3 separate regions of the Homo sapiens genome follow, and regions 1 and 2 are each linked to region 3. The links are contacts of gene promoters, found by promoter capture Hi-C in blood cells and fetal thymus (Javierre and others, 2016). All regions are on one chromosome and are shown on one strand. The core of a region is centred on a gene start or on the middle of the fragment in contact, and the rest is flanking DNA. Distances in the headings are between cores, read along the strand shown. Region 1 holds the start of VDAC3 (voltage dependent anion channel 3). Region 2 overlaps POLB (DNA polymerase beta). Region 3 holds the start of GOLGA7 (golgin A7).

The links. The method cuts DNA at HindIII sites, captures the fragments that hold promoters and counts their contacts. A CHiCAGO score of 5 or more calls a contact.
Region 1: a contact is called between a fragment that was not itself captured here and the fragment with the promoter of GOLGA7 in region 3, in 2 of 17 cell types (total B cells and fetal thymus). The highest score is 6.9, in total B cells.
Region 2: a fragment that was not itself captured here is called in contact with the fragment with the promoter of GOLGA7 in region 3 in 1 of 17 cell types (fetal thymus); the score reaches 5.7 in fetal thymus.

What each region holds. Positions count from the first base shown.
Region 1 is chr8:42,391,408-42,394,268 of GRCh38, reverse strand. It overlaps VDAC3 (voltage dependent anion channel 3), which reads right to left and starts at 2,389. Exons shown (of 10, transcript NM_005662.7): 1 at 2,341-2,389; 2 at 385-424; 3 at 1-59. The coding sequence starts at 57. RefSeq lists enhancers at 1,884-2,384, 2,385-2,861 and a silencer at 2,113-2,642. The HindIII fragment of the contact is 434 bases long and covers 1,054-1,487 here.
Region 2 is chr8:42,350,388-42,353,333 of GRCh38, reverse strand. POLB (DNA polymerase beta) reads right to left here. Exons shown (of 14, transcript NM_002690.3): 6 at 766-815. Among named protein-coding and RNA genes, the nearest start is that of POLB, 13 kb to the right of the region's middle. The HindIII fragment of the contact is 708 bases long and covers 985-1,692 here.
Region 3 is chr8:41,489,152-41,491,873 of GRCh38, reverse strand. GOLGA7 (golgin A7) reads right to left here and starts at 1,292. Exons shown (of 5, transcript NM_001002296.2): 1 at 909-1,292. The coding sequence starts at 1,019. RefSeq lists enhancers at 662-771, 822-931, 1,222-1,351 and a silencer at 1,402-1,661. The HindIII fragment of the contact is 7,658 bases long and covers 1-2,722 here.

The DNA.
Region 1 (2,861 bases), core at 21-2,520, 900 kb before region 3:
GTTGAAGACATCCTTAGCAGCCTTTCCTAGGTCACAGTACGTTGGTGTGTTACACATATCTTATAAAGAAAAACAGGGCAAAGGAATAAAAATAACCATTTAGTATTTATTCACCCACAGTTCTTCTGCTGTTTAATCCTGTGAGAAGGGGTATACAGTTTTCTCTTCCTGTGTATCATTAATGCTTTAATGCAATCAAAGGTATGAGACAGCAGTCTGCTCCTTAAAAAACAGACCTTTCCAGAATACTGAGAATAAAACAGTTTTCCCGTGAGATTCAGAGGTCATCTTTCTGATTGCATTTCAAAGAAAAGTAAGTTCTTACAGGATGAAAAAGATGCTATGTTAAACTGGACTTCTTTTAAAAATATATGCAAAATTTACCTTAGAAAAATCTCTCTCAGGCTCTTATGAAACCAAAGACCTGTATAAGACAACAATGGAAATTTTTAAAGAAACTGTTAAAAGATGCAATCAAAATCCTCAGGGTTAACATTTTTCTCCTCTGAAATTCAGTTCTTAAAATAAGAATTTACCATACGAATTGAAGTGTATTCATCTAGAATATATCTTCTCTCAAAGCTCTTCTTAAAGTGCTATAATTTTACCCATTAACCAGAAATATGACAGATTCTACCTGCAGCAACCTGCTTACCAAAAGTTAGTGTAAACTCTGAAGTTAAAGCCTTCAAAAACCTCAGGTGCCTTGATTTTTCATCTTGCCTACTAAAAATCTGCCCAGCTTTGCTACTGGTAATATGACCCTCATATCAAATTCTCAGAGCTATCAACACTGCTGATTATCTCATTCCTTTGCCCTCTTTGTATCATGGGAAATCTTTCTGCAGCAGGTTCTTCTGTATTCCTCTCGCAGACTCAAAAGCTATGTCTAACCAATTACAGAGCCACCTCTAGCAGTGCCATTAGCCCATATGTCAGAAAAATCCAGAGTACCAGCTAGCCCTTGCAATTGCTACGCCTGAATGATCTACACATTTAAGCTCATATTTATTTATATATAGCCCAGCTCTTAATCCAGACTTCTGCTAAGCTTCTGCCTACCCCATCATACCAAACATATACATATGATGCACTTAAATGGGAATGCATTTAAGTTTTGTTCCTTAACATAAACCTGTCAAATATGACAGACACTATGATATAAAGAGACTAGTATAAAAAACTAAAAAGAAAAAAAAATTAAAGAGGAAACGGTAGTATAAATGTACTGACTCATTCCATAGTAAAACTTTGCTCTAAGCTACCAGGTTTCATAATTCACTTACAGAACGATTATTTTACAATTCAATCCCTTGTACTAAAGTGATCAATTCTAGGCTTTTTATATTATCCCAATTGCAATTTGATATTACTCTTTATGATTACAACTGATGTTGATATTTGTTGAAATTTTGCCAGAAGTCTGTAATTTGGGAAGTAAGTATAGAAATGCAGGCAGTATATATTGAAATAGAAATGTTAAAGCTTTACAGTCTGGTTTTTCATACTGCCGAGAAAAGATACACTTAAATGTTTAGAAGCACTATATATACGTCTAGGGACTATTTACAATATTTCAGCATTTTGTTTTGTTATTTTTCAAAACCAGTACGAGATACTATGCAAAAGTCACGTAGCTGGTTTAGTATACTAACTGACCTCAATTCTGCCTAGTTCAAGCTGACTTTTTCAGGCCTATGACTCTGATGGGAAATGCACTGCTAGTATGATCAAGCAAAAATCGAGAACAACAGAAACTTCATGTTCCTCGAGAGTAAAGCTACAACCACACGTCTCCACCAGCTCTACAGAATGCACCTGCCCATAGATGTGCACACTGCACAGAGGCTGCAGGAGACGCAGACGGGGAAAGGCGTTAAGCCGGTTGCTACTGCTTTACAAAGCCACTAACTTGACAGCCAGTACAGAGCCCTTTTCGTTCCTCGCTTCTCCGTTTTGAATTGCACGCAGGGCACCCTCCCTCGGCCGTAAGGAGGGGGCAGGGGCGGGCGGGAGATGGGTGTGGGGTTCGAGGATCCAACTTCCCTAGAACCGATCTCCTTTCTAGCTGACCCCTGGGAGGAAAGTGCGGTCCACACGCCGGCGGGATAGGTCGCTGCCCGCGCCCGGAGGCCACTTGCCCCGCCGTGCTGCGGCTCCATCGCCTGAGGTGGCCCGGGCGGGTCCCGGCGGGAGCGAGCGGCCCCGGCCCCCCGCGCCCCGGTAGCCTGCTCCCTGCCCACAGAGCCTCCGTTAGGCCCGCCTCCCGCCTGGCGCTCTGCTCGGCCGCGGCCCACCGCTCTCCGGGACTGGAGCCCGCGCGGCCTCAGCTCTCCTCACCTCCACCCCGAGGGCCTGTCTCTGCTCCGCCAGGGCAACGCTGAAGGTCTTCAAACCAACGCCGTCCGCGCCTGCGCAGCCTCGCACCCCCAGCCGCGCCTGCGCGCCGCCCCTCCCCGAGAGCGCCTGTGCGCCGGCGTGTCGCGCCACGGTCGCGCGCTTCGGAGCAAGGCGCGGAGACGAACAGCCGGGCCAAGCCAGCACCACCAACTGTCCGGCTCCGCAGCGCGCGTGCGCAGGAGGGCTCGGTGTGGACAGTGAGGTTGACTGGGGGCCCAAGAGGCTGGGGACCGCACCTGTGCCCTTGAGGGGACTCATTCTCGCGAGAATGCGCGAGGTTGCTAGTTAACTGTTGCCATGGGTGCGGCCGCGAAAAGGCCGCAGGGTGCCGGACCCCAGGTTTGAGGCATGCCGCAGGCCGGAGTGTAGTGGCGCGATCTTGGCTCACTGGAGCCTCGACCTCCTGGGCTCAAGCCGTCCTCCTGCCTAAGCCTCCTGAGTAGGAGGGTCCACAGAAGCGC
Region 2 (2,946 bases), core at 89-2,588, 860 kb before region 3:
CGAGACCATCCTGGCTAACACAGTGAAACCCCGTCTCTATTAAAAATACAAAAAAAAATTAGCCGGGTGTGGTGGTGGGAGCCTGTAGTCCCAGATACTTGGGAGGCTGAGGCAGGAGAATGGCATGAACCTGGGAGGCAGAGCAAAAAAAAAAAAAAAGAAATAAAGGCAATTTAGATATTTGAAAAATTTGCAAACGATAACTATTTCATTGCTTTTAAGTCAAGAGGTTGGTTCTTGGTCTTCTTCTTTTTTTTTTTGAGACAGAGTCTTACTCTGTCACCCAGGCTGGAGTGCAGTGGCACCACCTCGGCTCAATGCAACCTCTGCCTCCCGGGTTCAAGCAATTCTCCTGCCTCAGCCTCCTGAGTAGCTGGGATTACAGGTGCCTGCCACCACACCCGGCTAATTTTGTATTTTTAGTAGAGATGGGGTTTCACCATGTTGGCCAGACTGGTCTCGAACCCCTGACCTCAAGTGATCCACCCGCCTCCCAAAGTGCTGGGACTACAGGCATGAGGCACCGCGCCTGGCCCTGGTTCTTGGTCTTCTTAGTTTTCTCTGAGTTAGTTACAAACCTAAAAATGTTTATGATGGTAATATAAACTATACCCTATATCTACTGTACTACAGAGTTAAAAAGAAAATCTTATCTTTTGTATCTACTGATTGAGAATGGGTTTTTCAAGTTGAAGTTTGTTAGAGCACTAATGGTCCTTCAGGACCATATTTAATCTGGAATTAGTGACCTACAGTCATACTCACCTTCTAGTGTTTTAATTCCTTCATCTACAAACTTCCTTGCAGCAGATGGACTACAAAAACAAAAGCATTATCTCAACATTGGGTGAAACTTGGGATCCTTGTAACAACCATGTCTTAATAGTAAGAAGAGCTGCTATTAAGCTAAACAAGACCTGCTAAAATGTTGCATGGCTACTTTGGTAATGTTCAACTGTATCCGAAGTACGAATTATTGAAGCTTCAATCATTAGGAAGACAACTATGAATTCAGACATAAAAAGGATGTCTAAGCAGCTGCTGTCATAGTGCCCATGTACAGATGGCACTTGAAAACTGTTCATTCATTGAACTAAGATTTACTGAGGGCCATTATGTGTCAGATACTTTCCTGGGTGCTGAAAATGTAGCAGGAATAAGAATGTAAGTGGGTAGATAGAGACAATAGTTAGTTACATAAACAAGAAAAAATCAGATGGATAAATTAAAATAGAATATGACAGAATGGCTGGGTCCTACTTTAGACTGAGTGGTAGAAGGTCTCTGAGATGGTATCTAAGCTGAGGTTTGAATGACTAAAGAACCAGCTATCTAGGGGATCAAAGAGAAAAACGTTTCGGGAAAAGGAAACAATTAGTGCAAGGGCCCTAAGGCTGGCATGAGCTTGGCCTGTTCAAGAGAAGAGAAAAACTAGGATGCATAGAGTGATGTAAGTGACGGTATGAGGTGCTATGGAACAGTACGCAGGTGTTACACTCTACTGTGCTTTTAGAGCCATGGTGATAGGTTTGGATTTTATTCTGAGTGCAATGGAAAGCTATTAGAGGACACTGCACAAAGCAATGATAAAATCTGATTTAGGTTTCTAAAATATCACTTTATTCATATAAATAAATCAGAATGTCAGAAATGACTGAAGATGCTCTTATAGGATGGGGACAGAAGGAAGCTTACTGATTAACCAAATTTCTCTCTTATTTCATAAGGAAGGACACTGAAACCTAGAAAGATGAAGCGATTTGCTAAGGTCACAAATCTAGCTGGTGCTAGCTCTAGACCATTATCCAGATTTCCTGACTCTCTTCTCACCATACCAGTTTACAGCATAATAAAGCAGGAGCGGTGAACAGAAAGAAATGCATACACACACATATAAACATACAAGCACAATAGTCTGGGGCCACAGTGTTTCGGGACAAATAAACCTGTATCATTCAGTAAGCTATGCAAATATCATCACATTATATTGTGATATAGAAACTGATACTGATGTTAGGAAGGCAATGCAGCATAGAAGAAACAGAACTGAACTCGGAGTCAGAAGATATGGGTTCAAATCTGGCTCTGCCATGGTTACTCATGTTCTATATTCAACTTTCAGTTCTCTTGCCTAGAAAAAAAGGATAATAGATGCTCTCTAAAACACCTTGTGGTTCACACCTATAATCCTAGCACTCTGGGAGGCTTAAGTGGGAGGAAGGCTTGAGGCCAGGAGTTCAAGACCAGCCTAGGCAACATAGGGAGACCTCTTCTCTACAAAAGATACAAAAATTGGCCACACATGGTTGCGCAAGCCTGTAGTCTCAGCTACTCAAAAGGAGTACTAAGGCAGGAGAGTCACTTTACCCCAAGAGTTCAAGGTTACAGTGAGCTATAATAGCACCACTGCACTCTAGCCTAGATAGCAGAATAAGACACTATCTCTAAAAAAAAAAAAAAATTTTTGTAATTCTTCCAATGAAAATTTTATAATGGCCTTGAGTCCCCAAGCAGTCATTTTCATTTTCAACATACTAGGTTTAAGAATTTAATATGTTTTAGAATAACTTTCACCGAAAATGCTGCCATTTAAAGAACAAATCATTATATTTAAAGGAATGCCCCATGCCATAAAGATGAGAGCACTAAAGCCTTAATATTTCAATGTTAATCTTTACTTCAGCCAGTGTCAAAAAAGCCCACCTTGGTACCAGCTCAAATTTTAAGATAATAATCCCTTCATTTAAAAATGCTTGAAGCTGGGCAAGGGGGCGTGCACCTATAATCCAAGCTACTCGGGATGCTGAGGAGGAAGAATCACTTAAGCCCAGGAGTTCAAGACCAGCATGGGCAACATAGCAACCCTGTCTCAAAAAATAATTTAAAAAAAGCTTGAGGGCTTGTTCCAAATTCATGAGGTGCTATGATAAATATCATGCTCAGAGA
Region 3 (2,722 bases), core at 43-2,542:
CAGAGGAGAGAGCCACAAAACCTGCTTCCAGCTAACCAGAAATTGATCCCTGAACGGGAAACACAATCTACATAACATGGGTCAAGACCAAAAGAATCTTTGGTTGAATGTACATATGTGGGCACACAAAAACACAGGCAGGCACGCACACACTCCATTACCTCTACAACAAGATACAATGATTTTTTTTTTTTTTTTAAAGTTTTGCTAGGTCTGAAGGGGAAGCAAATCCCATTCTTCCATTTTTGCCTGCAATGTTGCCCAAAGGACCTATATCCTGATGACCATTTTGATATGCAAGACAAAACAGGTGGCTCCCAGTGAATGTGACAAGTTTAAGGCCTTGTTCTGAGACATTTTCCTGTCCAGGCCTATCTAACGCCCGACGTCTTTAAGGTTCCAAGAAAGCCTGAACGCACCGCCTGGCCATGCACCTAATAAACCCTTTCAGCCAAACAGTGCGGCCAGCACAGAGGCAGCAAACACCAGTCACGAGAATGATGATGATTTATCTTGCGCGGAGAGGTAGGAGGATATAGTTTACAACCTGGTGACTGAGACGACCTGGAGCCTCAGGAATTGGCTCCTCATCGCTGCCGACAATAACCCGGGGTGGGGATTTGGGGGAGTGCAGCAGGGGAACACTGCTGGATCCAGATTCCCGGCACCGGGCAACAAAGTTCCATAAGGTCGTCAACCCCGGCGATCGGCCTATATTATTCTTCCTGCTCCAAACACCTGTCTTGCTTAGTGGCTCTCTTCTTACACGTTTGGCCAAGGCCCCTTCTGTGCCTGGACCTCCCCAGAACTGCGGGACCCTCAAAGGCCCGGTTGTCGCCCACACCCTTCCCGTCCCCGGTGAGTCTCTCTCCCTCGCCAGAGCAGGCGTGGGGAGCCAGGTTGCGTACCCGGTTCTCCAGCTCCGCAGGGAACTTGGTCTGGAACTGGCAGCGTGTGCCACTGCTGTAGTCTCGCTGAATGAACACCTTTCCGGACACCGGCGCCTGCTGCGGCCTCATGGCGAGGACAGGACACCCCGCGCTGCGGGGTCGGGGGAACACCAACCGCGAGTCAGAGCCCCGGCCTGGACCCGGGACTCTGACCCGCCAGCCCCTCGCCCCCACCCGCCGCCGAAAACAGCCCAAGGCCTCCTCTGCCCCGCTCCCCTTCACCCATGCTGTCACCGCGGGCCTTAGCTGCCGCCTGGCCCAGGCCCCGCGCCCCCCACAACCCGGTTCGGCCCGGGAAACACAAACCCGCCTCCTCTGCCCTCCAGCTGCTGTCGCACCGCCTTCGCCGTCACTTACGTCCTGCCGCAAAAAGCCTCTTCCCCGCCCCTCAGCTCGGCCTCCTACCTCAGGTCTGGGACCCACCCTCTCCTCCGGCCGTAAAGCCACCCTGCCGAAGCTGCGCGCTGTGGGGCTGGGCCGAGGAAGGGAAATGATGTGGGCGGGGCCAGGGCCGACCCCGCCTTCCGCCCGCGCGGGGATTGTTTCCGGAAGGAGAGAGGCGGGGCGAGCTGTGGGGCTGCGGCCGGGGCGAGCTGTGGGGCTGCGGCCGGCGCGAGCGCGCGGGGGTGTGAGGGGCGGAGTTTCCCGGCTGTGTCACTTCCCTAGTGATTGTGGCAGGTGGTTCCCGATCACTGATTGTGAGGGGTCATTTTCGTTCTTGATTGGACGTCGCAGCTTACGTGTGGGTTATGCCACCCAACTCATACACAAAACAAAAAACAAAACATAAAGAAAAAACAACACCCCCTCCCCAAACCCTCAAACACAAACTGCTCATTGTGTTCAGAAGTAGAAAGCAGGCTCCAAGGATGGATCCATTTGGTCCCTAGACTCTTGAGAAAGGGTCAGGAAGTGAGGACGAAGAACCTGCCTGGGCCCCAGCGTTGGGCGCCCCTGCCCCGACTCTTCTTTGGGGGCGGCGTTCCTCTCACCCCCCATTTCCACCCAGCTCCCATCCACATCCCTCAGGTGACCAAGGGGACAAGTGGTTCCGCCCTCGTTGCCCACTGGCCCTTACTTGACTCAGCATTTCTTTGCAAGGCAGCCAAAGAAACCCCACCTTACCCTTGTCTCCTGCTAATACAACCTGTTAGTACCACTGTCTTTTATATATTTAATATAGTTTAAATATCCTGCCTTTTAAATATGAAAAATTCTCTTACTGTATTTTAAAAACAGCTTTTTCGAGATATAAATGGCATACAATAAACCACACATTTAAAGCAGTGGATTTGATAACTTTGGACATATGAATACACCCATAAACCACTGTCACAATCAAGATAGTAAAGCTCCATTGCCCTGAAAAGGTTCCTCCAGCTCCTGTGTAATCTCTCCCTCCTGCCTCTCCCAGACCCCATTTCCCAGGCACTGATCCACCTTCTGTCACTCAACATTAGTTTCATTTCCTTGAATTTTATATAAATTGAATCATATAGTGTGTACCCCCTTTTTTTGCCTGGCTTCTTTCACATAGACTATTTTGAAGTCCATCTGTTGTTGTGTTATCAATAATTCATTTATTTTTGATGCTGGATAGCTATTCCATTGTATGGCCATCCCACAGTTTGTTTATCCATTCATCTGTTGATGGACATTTGGATTGCTTCCAGTTTTGGGATGTTACAAATAAAGCTGCTATGGACATTCATTTGCAAGTCTTTGCATAGGTGTGTAGACCTTAATGCTTTCATTTCTCTTGGGTACATACC